Linked DNA regions of Homo sapiens: all the other regions are linked to region 2. Evidence: promoter capture Hi-C in 16 types of primary human blood cells and fetal thymus (Javierre and others, 2016). All regions are on one chromosome and are shown on one strand. Each heading gives the region's core, a stretch centred on a gene start or on the middle of the fragment in contact. The rest is flanking DNA. Distances are from core to core; before and after follow the strand shown. Region 1 has its middle 89 kb from the start of ITGB8-AS1. Region 2 holds the start of MACC1 (MET transcriptional regulator MACC1). Region 3 overlaps MACC1-OT1 (MACC1 3' UTR overlapping transcript 1). Region 4 overlaps MACC1-OT1 (MACC1 3' UTR overlapping transcript 1). Region 5 overlaps ITGB8 (integrin subunit beta 8). Region 6 has its middle 120 kb from the start of ITGB8-AS1.

Evidence for each region. Contacts are between HindIII fragments. The CHiCAGO score rates a contact against its expected background, and 5 or more counts as called.
Region 1: a fragment that was not itself captured here is called in contact with the fragment with the promoter of MACC1 in region 2 in 1 of 17 cell types (monocytes); the score reaches 5.4 in monocytes.
Region 3: a fragment that was not itself captured here is called in contact with the fragment with the promoter of MACC1 in region 2 in 5 of 17 cell types (M0 macrophages, M1 macrophages, monocytes and 2 more); the score reaches 7.3 in M0 macrophages.
Region 4: a contact is called between a fragment that was not itself captured here and the fragment with the promoter of MACC1 in region 2, in 2 of 17 cell types (M2 macrophages and M1 macrophages). The highest score is 6.4, in M2 macrophages.
Region 5: a contact is called between a fragment that was not itself captured here and the fragment with the promoter of MACC1 in region 2, in 1 of 17 cell types (monocytes). The highest score is 5.3, in monocytes.
Region 6: a contact is called between a fragment that was not itself captured here and the fragment with the promoter of MACC1 in region 2, in 3 of 17 cell types (M1 macrophages, M2 macrophages and monocytes). The highest score is 8.2, in M1 macrophages.

The regions. Positions count from the first base shown.
Region 1 is chr7:20,419,909-20,422,608 of GRCh38, reverse strand. No RefSeq gene overlaps it. Among named protein-coding and RNA genes, the nearest start is that of ITGB8-AS1, 89 kb to the right of the region's middle. The HindIII fragment of the contact is 1,116 bases long and covers 705-1,820 here.
Region 2 is chr7:20,216,093-20,218,792 of GRCh38, reverse strand. It overlaps MACC1 (MET transcriptional regulator MACC1), which reads left to right and starts at 1,409. Exons shown (of 7, transcript NM_182762.4): 1 at 1,409-1,494. It overlaps GIRGL (glutamine insufficiency regulator of glutaminase lncRNA), which reads right to left and starts at 1,216. Exons shown (of 4, transcript NR_134569.1): 1 at 1,171-1,216; 2 at 430-537. RefSeq lists an enhancer at 385-1,584. The HindIII fragment of the contact is 5,395 bases long and covers 1-1,475 here.
Region 3 is chr7:20,019,185-20,022,056 of GRCh38, reverse strand. The region is part of intron 3 of MACC1-OT1 (MACC1 3' UTR overlapping transcript 1); the gene reads left to right. Among named protein-coding and RNA genes, the nearest start is that of MACC1-OT1, 120 kb to the left of the region's middle. RefSeq lists an enhancer at 2,034-2,123. The HindIII fragment of the contact is 1,159 bases long and covers 761-1,919 here.
Region 4 is chr7:19,978,398-19,981,219 of GRCh38, reverse strand. The region is part of intron 3 of MACC1-OT1 (MACC1 3' UTR overlapping transcript 1); the gene reads left to right. Among named protein-coding and RNA genes, the nearest start is that of MACC1-OT1, 160 kb to the left of the region's middle. The HindIII fragment of the contact is 6,365 bases long and covers 1-2,822 here.
Region 5 is chr7:20,393,855-20,396,941 of GRCh38, reverse strand. ITGB8 (integrin subunit beta 8) reads right to left here. Exons shown (of 14, transcript NM_002214.3): 8 at 1,957-2,046. Among named protein-coding and RNA genes, the nearest start is that of ITGB8-AS1, 64 kb to the right of the region's middle. RefSeq lists an enhancer at 766-1,965. The HindIII fragment of the contact is 5,095 bases long and covers 1-3,087 here.
Region 6 is chr7:20,447,551-20,450,250 of GRCh38, reverse strand. No RefSeq gene overlaps it. Among named protein-coding and RNA genes, the nearest start is that of ITGB8-AS1, 120 kb to the right of the region's middle. The HindIII fragment of the contact is 5,138 bases long and covers 1-2,700 here.

The DNA of each region.
Region 1 (2,700 bases), core at 13-2,512, 200 kb before region 2:
TCCTGAAAAGAGTCTGATATTATTGATTTGCTATTTGAAAGGAAAGAAAATGGTACTTATATATTCTGTTTCAAATTAAACTCTAACCTGTGGAGTGAGAATAGACACTTAATTAGAGTTAGAATGGACATACCAAAACTAGTACTAGACATTTATTCCCTTTAGTTTTCCTGGGAGGAGATAGGACCCAGGCCACAGTCTTATGTGTTATTAGCAATAATCTACGATGAAGACTTTCTGGCACAAGCCAAGCATCAGACTTCTCTGTCTCTTAAAAGTAAGGAACACGTTTCAAAGCTCCTCATGGTTCCCTTGAAGCCCCACCAAGCAGAAGGTTAGGTGGAACATCTTCAGACTGTCCCCAAAGAGAAGTGGAGTGGAGGCTCACAGCAGAGAGGTCTCAAAAAATGTTTAAACGATCTTCCTCTCCTCCTATCTCTTCCCTCTTTATATCCTCCATGGCTTGAGGGGTCCAGAATTCTATAGCAGGTTCTCAGTACCATTTCCTTTGAAAATCTGAAACTGTGGGAGGGAGGGCACACCTCACCTTGATATCTTAGCATAACAATTAGTAGGTGCCCCAGTTGAAAGTGATGTAGGTGGAGGCCCATTCTAGCATCCCATGCCCTTGGTGCCCACCTGATCACTGGATCTGGCAGGGATTAAAAGTAAATTTTCATGACAAATTTCTACCCTGGTAAGCTTTCTCAGGCCTGTTAAATGCCCCACCAAAAATACATAAGAAATTGTGTTTTCTTGAAAAAAGAAAACGTTTTGGGAAACTGTAAACAAAATATTTATTCCTTGCTAACTAATATTCTAAACAGAGACCAAGCAAGTTAACAAATGAATATGGTATTGAAATAAATAAACAAAGGAGGAATTTTAATTTCCAGCGAGTATTATTCTATTATCCCTGGTAAAACCTAATAATCTTCAGGAAGAACAGAAAACACCTACTGCTTAATATCTGTGGCTTATTTAATGAACAGTTCTTAGAAGAGCACTGTGATCATAGTCTGTAAATCTTTTCTCAGTCACATTCTTTGAGGTGAGGTCCTGGAGCTAACTTTATAGCACCCTCTTACTAGTAGGCCCACCTGGACTGCTGTCTGAAATGAGAGCTAGTTACTCTCTGTAGGTAAAATAGTAAACATTTGTAAGAGAAGATGGAACCCTTCATCAAAACAATTTATATCCTAAATTATGCTTTGGCCTATTTCCATTTAGTATGTTACTAGAAAAATGGAACAGATACAGACATCATAGCTCACAGAAGCCTAACGTAATAGGTGCCTAGATACTTATCGTCTAGTTGGAGTATCATGGAAAATTATGTTAGACAAAATTAAACTTTCTAGATTTAGACTTTCCATTAATCCAAGTCCCCTCTGACTCCTCCCCACAATTATTGACTGATGATCTCTCATCTTTTGTCCTGGCTTTATTTTTCCAATAATGAGACACATATATTTTTTTCCCCTGATGTTTCACTTATTCTTTGGGTCCGACTGACCCTTACACGTATGTCTCTATGTTTTGTTTCCCTTTTGCTAGTCATTGGCACTCAGAGGGTCATTTTCCCTTTTCCAAGCCCTCATTAAAGCAGACTTACTACCAGAATAAGAGCAAAATTAGTGAAATAGAGACAATTTGGATGCGTGCTTGTAGAAATATATATATATGTGTGTATAAATGTATATATTTATATATATATATATATATATATATATATTTTTTTTTTTTTTTTTTCCTGAGACAGAATCTCACTGTGTCAGTCAGGCTGAAGTACAGCAGAGTGATCATAGCCCACCGAAGCTTTGATCCCCTAGGCTCAAGTGATCCTCCTGCCTTAGCCTACCAAGTGGCTGGGATTACAGGCATTTGACACTAGGCCTGGCTAATTAAAAGAATTTTTTTTTTTTTTTTTGTAAGAGACAGTCTTGCTATGTTTCCTAGAACATTTTCTTCCCCTCAAGATCAGATAAAGTTTTGTCTGGGGTCAGCATAATCTGTACCTTTTTGGTCATCTGATGTTAGTTTTCACTCTTTGCAAGTGGTTCTCAGGCATCAGTGGGCATTAGGGTCACTTAAAGAGCATGTTAAAACACACTGCTGGTTTCTAATAAGCTTCCGGGTTGGGAGGGGGGAAGAACATCGCTGGGCCACAGTCCCAGAGTTTCTGATTCAGAAGGTCTTGATGGAGACCAAAAAATCTGCGTTTCTACAAACTTCTAGGTGATGGTGATGCTCTTGGACTGGGAACTACCCTTTGAAACTGTGAATTTATAGATTATCTTGTATTTAATGGGAAAAATGTTAATGGTAAATTAAGATTTTTTAAGTGAATAATTATCTCTCTTGACTTTAATGATGGTAGAATGAATTTCGTAATCATGACAAAGTAAAACAGCAAGAGCATGCCAAAGCCCAATAAAGCAGGAGTTTCCCTCTCACCAGTCTAGTCTGAGTGACTAGGCCCTGAGTATGAAATAATGCACCAGCCCACATCAGTGCTAAAGGATTACCACGTTGAAAGACAAGATATCACTTGTTTTTCTTGTACAGACCACAACTGCTTCTAATTATGATGAAAAAGTTCATATATAAATAATTACATCGAAAGTGATATTATCTTTCAATTAGGTTTATTTTGATAATATTTGAAAGCATGATCATTGACATGGTTTAAAATTTCCC
Region 2 (2,700 bases), core at 160-2,659:
AGATTAAGACAAACTGAGAAGGACATCTTGAAGAGTGTTTTTCATTGAGCTTTGGAAAAAATGAAATCTCTGAACATTTCAAGATGAGCAAAAATGGTTTCAGGGAGGAGAAATGCCATGCAGAATGCCCTCTGTAGGGTTTGGGGAAATTAAGAACCATTTGTTTTGGAAATAATATAATGACATAAAGGAAAGCTAGGTTCTAGTAGAGAGTTGAGGAACCTGTGACAAAAAGAAACAGAACAGCTCAGTTTGGATTGTGGGATGAGTCAAGGGGAAACTTCAAAGGGAATCTGGGTGGATTAGGTGATCTGGCAGCATGAAGCCAGGGATGCATCAGGGAGGAAGGGGTGGTTAGAACAGTAGGAGAGAAAGTGCAGAAAAGGGAAAGGAAACTTTTTCTTTGTCACCATTCTGCCATCTACTTACATTAGATGAATCCTTCTATTATGTTTCTGAACCCAGACCCAGCCAGGACTTGTCTCTATTCATTTTCTGGGCTGTGTCTAACAGGAGATAATAGGCTAGAGAGAGATGCTGTATGAACAAATAGAGAAACACATTTGTTTTAAACATTCTCTGTTGCTGATGTTGGAAAAAAATGTGAAACAATTATTGCACATTTCATTTCACTAAGTTTTACCTTTTTTCCCCTTTCCCCTAATTTTCTCTTTCTTGAATTTTGAACAAAATACACAGAAGGAAAACACAAAACACAGAAATGGAAAGTAAAATGGAAGAAAATATCAAGAAAACTTTATTCTTGCTTATATTTTAAAAGGCACATTTTAAAGTGTTATCTTAAAAATCCAGAGCATTTTAGAAGATGAAATGCCAAAAGGTCTCCATTATGTCTATATGTCTATGTCTTTGAGTGACAATCACAGTGCTGATGTAGAGGGAAAGGGGGAACTAGTTAGACACTGTCACTCACCTGGGAAGGCTTTATTCACCTGTTCCACAGGGCAGTGAGGCACCTTCAGCTCTGAATCACCGAAAGAGAATCTGGTGGGGCAAGTTCCAGCTGCATGAGGATTTGCTTGCATAAATATTTTTTACTTATTGCTAACACTGAGGGTGCCTTCTTACTCCCTGGCAAACATTAAACCACTTTTATTTCCTTTCATGGAAATAAGATTATATTTACAGATGGTTCTTAGATATACTCACCTGATTTTTTTTTAATTGCTTTTCCACCTGCTTCCCCTTTCTTCTTAGGGTGAAACTCTAGCCATACGCCCTCTTCTGGTTTCGGGTGAGGAGCCTGAATTGTGGGTATCGTAGTTCTCTTGCCTTTTGGGGTTTCTAGTTGGGCAGCTTTGGAGCCACAGTGGTAGAACTTCAAGTCCCAGGTGGCTCAGGAAGCAGGGGTGCAGTTGCCTGCCTGCATACGGAGCAAGGCATGTTTGAAGAGTACCCGGGTTTGGTAGAGTGACTTCTATTCACTAAAACCATGTGTCTGAACTGAAGAAGCTTGGGCTCACTTCCACAAATGTAAGTGCTGATTTTTTAAAAATAATATTCCTTTCACTATTGATATGTGCTACACACTAGGAAGTTGTATAATTTCCAGAAAAATGTAACAAACCAGCTGCTTAACAAATCAAGCCCTGCTTAAATAAAGGGAAGGTAACTGGTATTCTGTGGGCTTATGGGACATGTGTTAGAATAAACCTCATGACATAGAATAGAATAATACCTTGAGACATGGTTTAGAATAAAGTAGTTTATTTTAAAAAAAAGGAGGAACCCAGGTCACATTAACCATCAAAGGCAAAAACAAAACACTCTATGAGTTGCTTAAAATATGTAGATGGCTGAAATCCCCTAAAAACTTTAAATATCTCAAAAAGCATACAGGTATGTTAAAAAGACTGTGCTTTGAAGATAGATAAAGTTGCAATCAGCAGCCCCACTGCTTATTAGATTTATGACCATTGACAAGATGTTTCACCTCGCAAAGTCTCAGTTTCCTCATCTGTAAAGTGTGTGTGCATAACCTACCTCATTAGGTTAATAGCATTAAATTATGAATAAAAGATAATCATGTAATTAAGTTAAGGGGGTCATTAAATTAGCACAGTGCATTGTACTGAATAGACAGATGATACATGATGGAGGGTAACTTGGCTTCATCCTAATTAAGTTTCAATTAAGCTTGGAAAACACACCAAAGAAACAAAAAGACAAATACTGGATGATTCAACTTACCTGAGGTATCTGGAGTAGTCAAACTCACATAAATGATACTTAGAATGGTAGTTGCCAGGGGCTTGGGGGAAGGAGAAATGAGAGTTGTTTAATGGATATAGAGTTTCAGTTTACAAGATGAAAACACTTGGAGACTGTACAATAATGTAAATATATTTAATACTATTGAACTTAAAATTTGTAAGTGTAAACACTTACAAATGGTTAGGATGGTAAATTGTATGTTAAGTTTTTTACCACAATTAATAAAGATAGATTTTAAAAAATTTATTTTTAAGATCAAAAAGCATGTAGTGAAAATTCCAATGCCTTCCATTTATTAAAGGTCTTCCTAATTTCCTAAAAATGTCTTAAGTCTATATTCAGTGGGTCTAATTTAGGATTGATATTGACTTATCTATGTTAATGTCTGGTTTTTACATAGCAATTACTGGGTGATAATGATGAATTTCAGGTATATTCTTAAAGTTGTCTTAACCTCAGTGGTGA
Region 3 (2,872 bases), core at 91-2,590, 200 kb after region 2:
GTTGAAAGCTACTTTCTGAGGCTTAGCTCTAATAAGTCAGTGGTTCTAAACTGACCACAAAATTAATTCTAAGTCTTTTACCCTTAAGTTGCCCTGGTTCCTGTTTCAGTCTGTTGCACAGCTACTGTTTACTAGGACTGGGTTTCTCAACTTCCTTGGCACTATTGACATTTTGAGCTGCATTATTATTTATTGCAGGAGATTGTCCTGCACGTTGTAGGATGTTTGGCAGCATCCCTGGCCTCTATCCACCAATCCACTAGCTGACAGTAGCACTCTCCTCCACTCCTGTACTTGTGATAACAAAACTGTTTCTATACATTGTCATATATCCCCTGGGGGACAAAATTACCCTCAGTTGAGAAAAAAACTTGTTCTAGGATTTTATTGCCATATTTTTTGGAATTCATATCATGTCTTTATTTTGAAATATTTTTAATGGATCCTTTCTTGCTTGGGTCACCTGTTTTGCTCTTCCTTAGTGAATCACCTTATTTTAGTCAATTATATCCTCCTCTAGCTTCCTGAGAGAGACTGTGTGAGTGGTAAAATTATTGAAAAGTTGCATGCCTTCATTTGAACTGCTGTGTCTGATTAAAAAAATAGTTTGGCTGGGTATACAAGTCTTAGTTGGAAATCACTTTCTCTCAGAATTTTGAAGATATCACACCATTATTGTCTAGCTTCTAACATTTCTATTGAGGGTCTGATGTAATTTTGATTTCTGAATGTGGACTCTTCTGACTTCTCTTCAGAAGCTTCTAGGACTTCACTTTGTAATCAGTGTTCTGAAATTTCTCAGTGAGGTAGTTTTCCATGGGTCTTGTGTAACCATTGTATTGAACTCTTGATGATCCCTCTCAATGTGAAACTTCAAATCTTTCAGCCTGAAACATTTTTAAACATTTTCTTTATTTTTTTCTTCTCCATCTTCTCTCTTCTTTCTTTCTGTAATTCTAAGTGTTCAGTGTTTTAAGTCCTAGAATAATATTCTAATGTTTTCTATTTTTTTCTTTGTGAGAGATTTTTTCAACTTGTTTTTTACTTTTCTTATTGAACTTTATTTTACCATGATAATAATTGTATTTCCCAAGATTTTTGGGTTCTATTCATGACATTAAAACAAATTACCCCATGTTCTCATTTTATGAGTACAATAACTCTCAGCTCTCTGAAGTTCCAACATTTTTTATGAGAAAATTTAAAAATTCTTTTGCTTCTTTGATGAGTTTCTCCCCCTGCCACCCTTTGTTTACTTAAGTCTTCACCCTTTATGTTAGAGGCTTGCTTCAGTCCTCTAAATGAAGGCTTTCTTCTATGTCTGGCTATATGAGACTTTCCATTCAGATTTAAGACAGAGACAATAAAAATCTGATTTCAAGGTATGTGTGGCTGTGTGGGCCCTGTCTACTGGTGGGATTTACTCTATGATGCTTAATTTGGTTTTATCAGGAGATCTGCCTTTCCCAGTGTCTGCTGTTCTCCTATTCTCCTGGTACATTTCCGCAAGCAAAGAATACTCATTTATTAGCCAACTATTGATAGGCTGATACATCTTATGTAGCATTTTTAGATCCAGCTGGGGAAAGGTGACTGGGCTTCAATGATTGGTTAATGAATATCCTTTTTTTCCATGTGGTACCCTTTCCGTTAGCAATGTGCAGTGTCCCTGATTCCATGACATGGGGAGAGAGGCAGTGACCTGACAGAAAAGGGTTGGGAAAGTAATCTGTGGAATCTTGTACCTTCTTCTATAGCTAATCGATTCTCTTAATTTTCACACCACCCATTACCCTCTGTTGCAGAGGTACCTGGCTGCTGCCTTCAATGACTAAGCCTCAGTTAGCATTTTTCTGTGAAAAAAATGTCAGTTGCTTTCCTTACTGATAGTGTAGTTTTCAGCTTTGAGGTACTAAGCTTCTTACCTCAGTGATAGCTTGAATAATGTGCCCCAAAGATATCTAAGATCTATTTCATGGAACCTGAGAGAGTTACTTTACATGGCAAAAGGGGGCCTTGCATATGTAATTCAGTTAAGTATCTTCAGAGAGGGGGATTTTCCAGGTGTTTCCTAAATATAATCATGAGAGGAGGGTGGACAGAGATTTGACCACAAAAGAGGAAGAAGGTGATATGATGATGGAAACAGAGAATTGAAGATACTTTGCTGCTAGCTTTGAAGGTGGAGGAAGGGGTGATGAGCCAAGAAATGCAAGGAATGCAGCTCTAGAATTTGGAAAAGGCAGGGAAAGAGATTCCATCATAGAGCTTCCTGAGGAAGTGTACCCCTGCTAGCACTTTGGTTTAATCTATTGAAACCCTTTGAGCTTCTGATATCCAGAACTGTAAGAAAATAAATGTGCGCTGTTTTAAGTCACCAAATTTGAGGTATTGTTTAAAGTAGCCATAGTAAATTGATACACCTGCTTTCTAGTTTCCCAAACTCTGTTGTAGTACTGTCTTCTCACGTTGGCTTTATCCTTGTGCATTTATGTTTTTCAATCATCTTTCTTGTCTTTTTTGTAGAATTTAAGGCAGAATAACTAACTTTTTAAAAATTTTCTGTGTATTTTTGTTTAATTTTCTTTGTTTTTTTAAAAAATGTTTAAATGATGCCATGCACATGCAATTCCTTGAAGATGACTGCTAGATACTAAATGTATTGTTTTGTTTGCATTTTGTGGATTGTGATGAATGTCGGCTGTTTATTTACAAAGTCTGTTAGCACTCAGAATTTCCAAGAGGGAGTAGTAGATATGATTAAATAGAGAAAATATCAGAAATAAGAGAGGAATGCTACTATTTTTAATAACATTCAGTATTGTTGTGGAGCTATTTCTAAATGCAGTTAGGAAGGAAACATAAATAACTG
Region 4 (2,822 bases), core at 204-2,703, 240 kb after region 2:
GTCTAAACTCATTCTACAAGGTCAGTATTACCCTGATACCAAAACCAGACAAAGACACGTCAGAAAAAGAAAACTACAGGCCGGTGTCTCTGATGAACATTGATGCAAAAATCCTCAACAAAATACTAGCAAACCAAATACAACAATGCATTAGAAAGATCATTTATTGTGACCAAGTGGGATTTATCCCTGGGAAGCAAGGAGAAACAACCTACACCAATCAATCAATGTATACATCATATCAACAGAATGAAGGATAAAAACAATATGATTATTTCAATTGATGCTGAAAAAACATTTGATAAAATACAACATCCCTTCATGATAAAAACCCTAAAAAACTGTTATAGAAGGAGCGTACCTCAAAATAATAAAAGCCATATATGACAGACCCACAGATAGTATCATACTGAATGGGAAAAAACTGAAAGCCTTTTTTCGAAGATAAGGAACATGATAAGGATGCCTACTGTCACCACTATTATTCAACATAGTACTTGAGGTCCTAGCTAGAGCAATCAGACAAGAGAAAGATATAAAAGGCATCCAAAATGGAAAGGAAGAAGTCAAATGACCCTTATTTGCAGATGATATGATCTTATATTTGGAAAATCCTAAAGACTCCACAGGAAACCTTTTAAAACTGATAAACAGGCCAGGTGCAGTGGCTCACGTCTGTAACGCCAGTACTTTGGGAGGCCTAGGTGGGTGGATCACCTGACGTCAGGAGTTCGAGACCAGCCTAGCTGACGTGGTGAAACCCGATCTCTACTAAAATACAAAAAGTAGCCAGGCATGGTGGCTTTTGCCTGTAATCCCAGCTACTCGGGAGGCTGAGGCAGGAGAATTGCTTGAACTCAGGAAGTGGAGGTTGCAGTGAGCCAAGATCATGCCACTGCACTCCAGCCTGGGTGACAGAGTGAGATTCCATCTCAAAACAAACCAAAAAACAAAAAAAGTGATGAATAGATTCAGTAAATGTGCATACACAAAATTAACATAAAAATCATTAGCATTTCAATATGACAACAATGAACAATCTGAAAAAGAAATACAAATATAATCCCATTTATAATAGCCATGCAAAAAATGAAACAATAATTATCTTAAAGAAATAAAAGATCTCTATAATGAAAAATATAAAACACTGATGAAAGAAATTGAAGAAGCCAACAAAATTTGAAAAAATATTCCATGTTCATGGATTGTAAGAATTAATATTGTTAAATATCCTTATTACCCAAAGCAATCCACAGATTCAGTGCAATCCCTATCAAAGTACTAATGACATTCTTCACAGAAATATTAAAAACAATTCTAAAATTTATATGGAAACACAAAAAGGCCCAGAAGAGCCAAAGCCATCCTAAGCAAAAAGAACAAAACTGGAGGAACTATATTAGCTGACTTCAAATTATAGTACAGAGCTATAGTAACCAAAAGGGCATGGTACAAGCATAAAAGCAGACACATACACCAATGGAACAGAATAGAGACCCCAGAAATAAATCCACACTGCCTACAGTGAACTCATTTTTGACAGAGGTGCCAAGAACATACACTGGGAAAAAGACAGTCTCTTCAATAAATTTTTCTGGGAAAACTGGACATCCATATGCAGAAGTATGAAACTAGAATCCTATCTCTCACCATATACAAAAATCAAATTAAAGTGAATTAAAGACTTAAATCTAAGATTTCAATCTATAAAACTGCTACAAGAAAATATTGGGAAAAATCTCCAGGACATTAGTCTGGGCAAAAATTTATTGAGCAATACCCAAAAAGTGCAGGCAACCAAAACAAAAAATGGGCAAATAGAATCACATCAAGCTAAAAAGATTCTGCACAGCAAAAGGTACAATCAACAAAATGAAGAGACAACCCATAGAATGGGAGAAAATATTTGCAAACTACCCATCTGACAAAAGATTAATAACCAGAATATATAAGAAGCTCGAAAAACTCTGTAGGAAAAAATCTAATAATTGGATCAAAAAATGGGCAAAATATTTGAATAGACATTTCTCAAAAGAAGACATACAAATGGCAAAGAAACATATGAAAAGGTATTCAGCACCACGGATCATCAGAGATATGCAAATCAAAACTATAATGAGCTATCATCTCACCCTAGTTAAAATAGATTATATCCAAAAAACAGGCAGTAACAAAGGCTGGCAAGGATGTGGAGAAAAGGGAACTATTGTACACTGTTGGTGGGAAGGTACATTAGTACAACCATTATGGAGAACAGTTTAGAGCTTCCTCAAGAAACTAAAAATTGAGCTACCATATAATCCAGCAATCTCACTGCTGGGTATATACCCAAAAGAAAAGAAATCAGTATATTGAAGAGATATCTGCACTCCTATGTTTGTTGCAGCACTGTTTGCAATAGCTAATAAGAGGAAGTAACCTAAGTTTCCATAAAAAGATAAATGGATAAAGAAAATGTGGTACATATATACAATGGAGTACCATTCAGTCATAAAAATGAATGAGACCTAGTCATTTGCAACAGCATAGATGGAACTGTGGATCATTATGTTAAGTGAAACAAGCCATGTACAGAAAGAAAAACACTTCATTTTATCATTCATTTATGGGAGCTAAAAACCAAAACAGTTGAACTCATGAACATACAGAGTAGAACGGTTACCAGGGGCTGAGAAGGGTAATTAGGAGTTATTAATAGTAGGGAAGTGGGGATGGTTAATGGATACAATACAAAATATAGTTAGAAACAATGGAATAATACCTACTATTTGATAGCACAATGGGGTAACGATAGTCAATAATTATTGTACACTTCAAAATAA
Region 5 (3,087 bases), core at 13-2,512, 180 kb before region 2:
GTTAGCCCCAGTAAGTTTTTGTTGGATTTAATATTATTTTTCCACTGTTTACGGTTGATGAGAACTACACTGGACTAAGGCATTGCATACCTATGCTAGGCAAAATAACCAAATGTTGCTGTCTCCTTTGCCACTGGGGCAGTCTGACACACAGGTAAAAATCTGTAAATTTATATACTTTTTTTGGAGTAATAAATGGGTTCATACTAAAGAATTTAGAGTGGTTTCTTACAGCATAAGCTCTTGTCTTATTTTGATTATTCTTGGGAACAGACTACTGATGGGAATGAATTGTAGACACATTTGATTTTCTGTGATAAGTCCCTCTTCAGTCTCACTGTTCTTTTTTGTAACAGTGAGAAAGATGTAATTTAAGACGCTCTTCCTTATTTTACTCAACGTACTTTTCAGACATAGAAAACTATCCTCAGTGAAAACAAATCAAGCAAGATTTATTTTCCTTTTAGAAGATGAAAGTTTAAACAAGTTCTTAATTTTTTTTTTTTTTTGAGATGGAGTCTTGCTCTGTCGCCCAGGCTGGAGTGCAGTGGCGCAATCTCGGCTCATTGCAAGCTCCGCCTCCTGGGTTCAAGCCATTCTCCTGCCTCAGCCTCCCGAGTAGCTGGGACTACAGGCACCCGCCACCATGCCCTGCTAATTTTTTTTTAGTAGAGACAGGGTTTCACCGTGTTAGCCAGGATGGTGTCAATCTCCTGACCTCGTGATCCACCTGCCTCGGCCTCCCAAAGTGCTGGGATTACAGGCATGAACCACCGCGCCCGGCCTAAGTTCTTCATTTCATATATTGTGTCTACTTCCTGCCTTTCTCTTTTGTGCCCAAGCTAAAGGAAGGTGCTGTCTGGAGAAAACGAGAAGAGAAACGAGAGGTTTTTCCACAATGCTTTGGCTATAATTTAACTATTAAACTCTGCGTGTTAGGAAGGGAGTCAGAGAATTTGGGAAAGAGACTCTATAGTTGGCCCATAAATTCAAGGTAGCATAAAGCATATCTTTTGACACACTGTAAAACAATGAAAAACAGGTGGTATCGCAGAGGAGGAAGCACCTGAGGCTTGAAGTAAAGGAACACCTGGATTCTGATCCCACTTTCTTCTGCTTATTAGTTGAACAACCTTTGATAAGTTTGTTTCACTTTCCTGAGTCTTGGTTTCTACTAATATACAATGTGGGTACTAACCACCTGCTTTATAGGTCAGGTGTGAGGACTGAATGAGGTCATGTATGTAAAGTGACTGGATCTTAGTGGTAAAAAAGTAGCAGTCACTATTTTCACAACATCTTAACAGAGGTGGTTCTATTCAGGAATGACGCAGGTTGAAAGAACAGATGTTTCTTTAAATTCTTTGCATTGAGGCATTCACTCTTCATAGGACTGATGACAGCATACAACCATCAACTCAAGAAAACAGAGTATCTACTAAGGTGATTCTTTTAATCAAACTCTTTTGATAAAAATGCTAAAATAATTGTTGAACAATCAAGTGGTTGATCATAGAGATCCCAACCGACTCCTCTTAATAATTGCTATATCCCAGATAGTTTAACTGCCCTGGCAGATTATTGCCTTACGTAACTGTGGACTTCTACTTTATCATTACGGCATAGGAAATGACGCAATTTCATGGTAATAATGTACATTCTATAGCTATGACTTGATGATTCACTGAGCACTGGATGTAGAAGGAAATTTAGATAGCCTCTAGCCCAATCTCTGTTGACTGTCAATGAGAAAAGTGAGGCACAGAAAGCAGAAATAACTTTCCCAAAGCAAAAAGCTAGTTAGTGGTAGGGCCAGGGATGAACTTCAGATTCCTAATTCCTAATCTAATATGCTTTCTACTCCTCCTCTCGAGATGACATGGCACTACTTTGTACCTTGTCACAGAAATTGAGGTAAAAATTTTATTTAAAAAATTGTATCTAATATATACATACCTGATAGGCTTCCACTACCAAATTATTGAGGTTTGCAGCCTTTGATTCTATTTCACCAGCAATGGTGCCTGGCAAGAGGGGTAGAAGATCCTATAAAACATATCAGTAGCATTTAAACAATGACAATAGTATGTAATGGGTTAGCAACCAACAAATAGTAAATATTTTTGTAGTTATCAGTTGAAGGTGAACCATTAAATGAATGAAAACCTATAAGACACAAGAAAAATATAAGCAACCTAGTAGAGCAGCCAGAACATATACCCATGTAGTGGTTGTGTGTGTCTGTACATGTGCATGACTGTGTGTGCATCCGGAATCACTGTACCTGATGACCTAAAAATCCAATCGAAATGCAGATGAGCATCTCCCAAATTTCTTCCATGGAATGTAAAGCCCAAGAGATTTTAAACATACAAAAGTTTTGAGGGCAAATGAGCTTGGGAAGTTCTGCATATGGTTTCTTCCACTTAGAAACATAAAATGCACATTTGCAAATTAAAAGTTTCAGAGTAGGCCTGCAATCTAGAAATGATTTAACATTATTTAATGCAGCATTTCCCAAAACTTCTTTAGTTAGGAAAAATCATAGTCACAAGTGGAAACTTCATGGGGTATGTGTTCTTGATGCATGCTGCTTATTATGGAGAAGACCGTAGGTATTTTTAGGGAGAATGAGCAAAGGCTTTAAAGGTCTGCATGAATCGAAGATGAAGCAAAAATAGAAAAAAGCCAATCTGACTAAAGGGCACGTACTTATAGGAAATCAGATGGTAAAAAGTTTTGAAATCCATTTATTCTTGCATTTTATCCTATTCACAAATATCCTTAAGTTCCTGCTGGATGCCAGCCATTACTTAGACACTAACAACTTGGCATCTCAAGTCATAAGGAAAAATGTATCATTTATAGATTTTAAAAATTCATTTATTAGACTTTTATTGAGCTCCTACTTTATACACTTTGGAGATGCCAAATCACTAGGTCACATAGTTTCCACCCTTAAGGATCTCACAAGCATATAAATGACAATTTCTTCACTAAACACTGTACATGTGAACACGTGAAACAATAGAGATGTGCACAGACCCTAATGAAAGGGATACCTGGCCAGCATTTGAGAGCTGGGGA
Region 6 (2,700 bases), core at 62-2,561, 230 kb before region 2:
TGTGTCAGATTTCTTTCTCCCTGCCCCTGATTTTTGGAAAAAAATCTCAGACAACACAAGCTATCTGTATCAAAATATTACAGGTTTATCCTGATTCAGCAGGTCTGGAGAGGGATCTGAAATGCCACATTATTAACAAATCCATTGCCACTCTTCCATGGAAAGTATATTGAATAACAAGATTAGCATTTCACATACTTCTCTGATGATAAGAATCACCTGGGCCTCAAACTTTTAAAAATACTCTCAGCTCCCACCGGGCACGGTGGCTCGTACCTGTAATCCCAGCACTTTGGGAGGCCGAGGCGGGCGGATCACGAGGTCAGGAGATTGAGACCATCCTGGCTAACACGGTGAAACCACATCTCTACTAAAAATACAAATAATTAGCCGGGTAAGGTGGCGGGCGCCTGCAGTCCAGCTACTCAGGAGGCTGAGGCAGGAGAATGGCGTGAACCCGGGAGGTGGAGCTTGCAGTGAGCGGAGATCGCGCCACTGCACTCCAGCCTAGGTGACAGAGCGAGACTCCATCTCAAAAAAACAAAACAAAACAAAACAAAACTCTCAGCTCACATCCCTAAAGCTCCTAATTATGTGGGCTGGGGATGGCCTGAGCTTTTTAAAGCAAGTAACCCAGGTGATTCTTTTCATCAGGAAATTTTGGATATGCTGTTATAGACCAAATCTAGCTCTGATTTACTATTGGCAGTAGGACTTCAACATTAAACAAACAAAAACCACAAAGAGATGCTTATAACTAGGGATGAAACTCATGTGACTGGGGCTTAAGAAACTGTTAGTTTCATGAAGGCAGGGAAAAAAGTTGTTTTGTTCATTGTGATATCCGAGGGACTTAGTGCAGTGTCTGACAAAGTGAGTACTGATATCATATTTTCCTGTTTCCTTTCTCTAGGATCCCCACAATCTAGCCCTGTATTAGTCAGAACTCGTGTGATTTCAAATGACAAAAACTCGTCTTATGCCAGCTTAAGCCAAACTAGGGAATTTTTTTTTGGAGGGGGAGGGTGGTTAGCAAAACAGAACAGTATAGGGTTGATCTGATTCTAGGCATAGTTGGATTCAGATGTTCAAACAATATTAATCAGTACTGTTTCCTTCTTTTCTTCCTCCTTGCCTCTCCTACCTTTCCCATTTCTTCCCCTTTTCTCTCTCCCTTTCTCTCGATCTCTTTCTTCCTCTCTCTTTGCTTGCTTTCTCTCTGTTTCTTTTCCTTTTCCTTTGCTTTTCTCTCCTTTCTTTCCCTCTTTCTTTCTTTCTTTTCTTCCCTTTTATCTATTTTTTCTTGTTTTTCACCTTTGATTTCCTCTGTATTTTCAGTAGGCTTTCTCTATATAGGAAAAAATGTCCAGGGGCATCTCCAGGTCTACATGGTACTTGAATCTTAAATCTCAAGGGAAAAGAGAGTCTCTTTTCTGACAGTGCCAACAAAATTCTGGAGCAGAACCTACATGACCTCTTCCTATGTGTGTATATGTTTGCAGAAGGGAGTACTTTGATTATTTAAGCCTGGGATTAATTCTATCCAAATCATATGGATTGAGGAAGATTGAATGGAAAGGGAGGGGGACAGGTCATTCAAAGCTGGGGAGGTGGTATTGTGCAGACAAACATATGTCCAACATAGGCTCAAATCTACATTTCCAGCCTCATCGTTTGGCCTATTACTTGATGAAGTGATGACCTGCCCTGAGAGAGTTGCTGATCTGTGACTATTTTACATCTTCCCAATTCTATCCCTGCCCAATGTATTCTTTTGGTTTAAGGCTTGTCCCTCCACCCCTGCCAACCCCTGCCAATTTTTTGTAATCATTCATATTATTGTTTTGTTCAAATGATCTTTCTCTCCAAAGACCTCTTTTTAATAGATTGTGGCAAAAAGCCCGCATAACATAAAAATTTGCCATCTTAAGCATTTTGAAGTGTATATAGTTCAGTAGTGCTAAGTATATTCACACTACTGTGCAACTAATCTCCAAAACATTTTTGTCTTTCAAAATGGAAACTCATTAAACAGATCTCCAATTACCCCTCCCAACATTCCCTGCCAATCATCATTCCACTTTCTATTTTTATGAATTTATCTACTCTAGATATATAAGTGGAATCACACAGGGTTTGGGGTCTTATGATGGTTTATTTCACTTAGCATATGTTTTCCAGGTGCATCCATGTTGTAGCATGTGGCAGAATGTCCTTCCTTTTTACAGTAGAATAATATTCCATTGTGTGTGTTTTCCACCCTTTGTTCATCCATTCAGCTGTTGATGGATGCTTGGGTTGTTTCCACTTCTTGGCTAGTTGAATAGTTTTGCTGTGAAATAGGTGTTCATGAATTCTTCTTTAATTCCTCCTCCTTCTTCTGTCTCCTCCAAGGAATTAACTTCTCTTGCTTTTGTGAGAATGCTGGCTTTTCTCATGCCACCATCTCACTCCACCCATCACACTCTGCACTCCATGGCATGCTTTTAAGGTGAGGCATGTATGGGATATGAGCACCATTTGTTTTACATTTGACATATGCATTCACATTTGTTCTATGGATGGCCAACTAGTTGTAAGATACTAGAAAATAATACTACCAAAACTACATAAAAACTAGTGTCCATTTTTTTTCTAGTTCAGTGTTATACACTAATTTTCTTCAGAAAAAAAGAAATGAGCAATTGAAAATTATGAAGT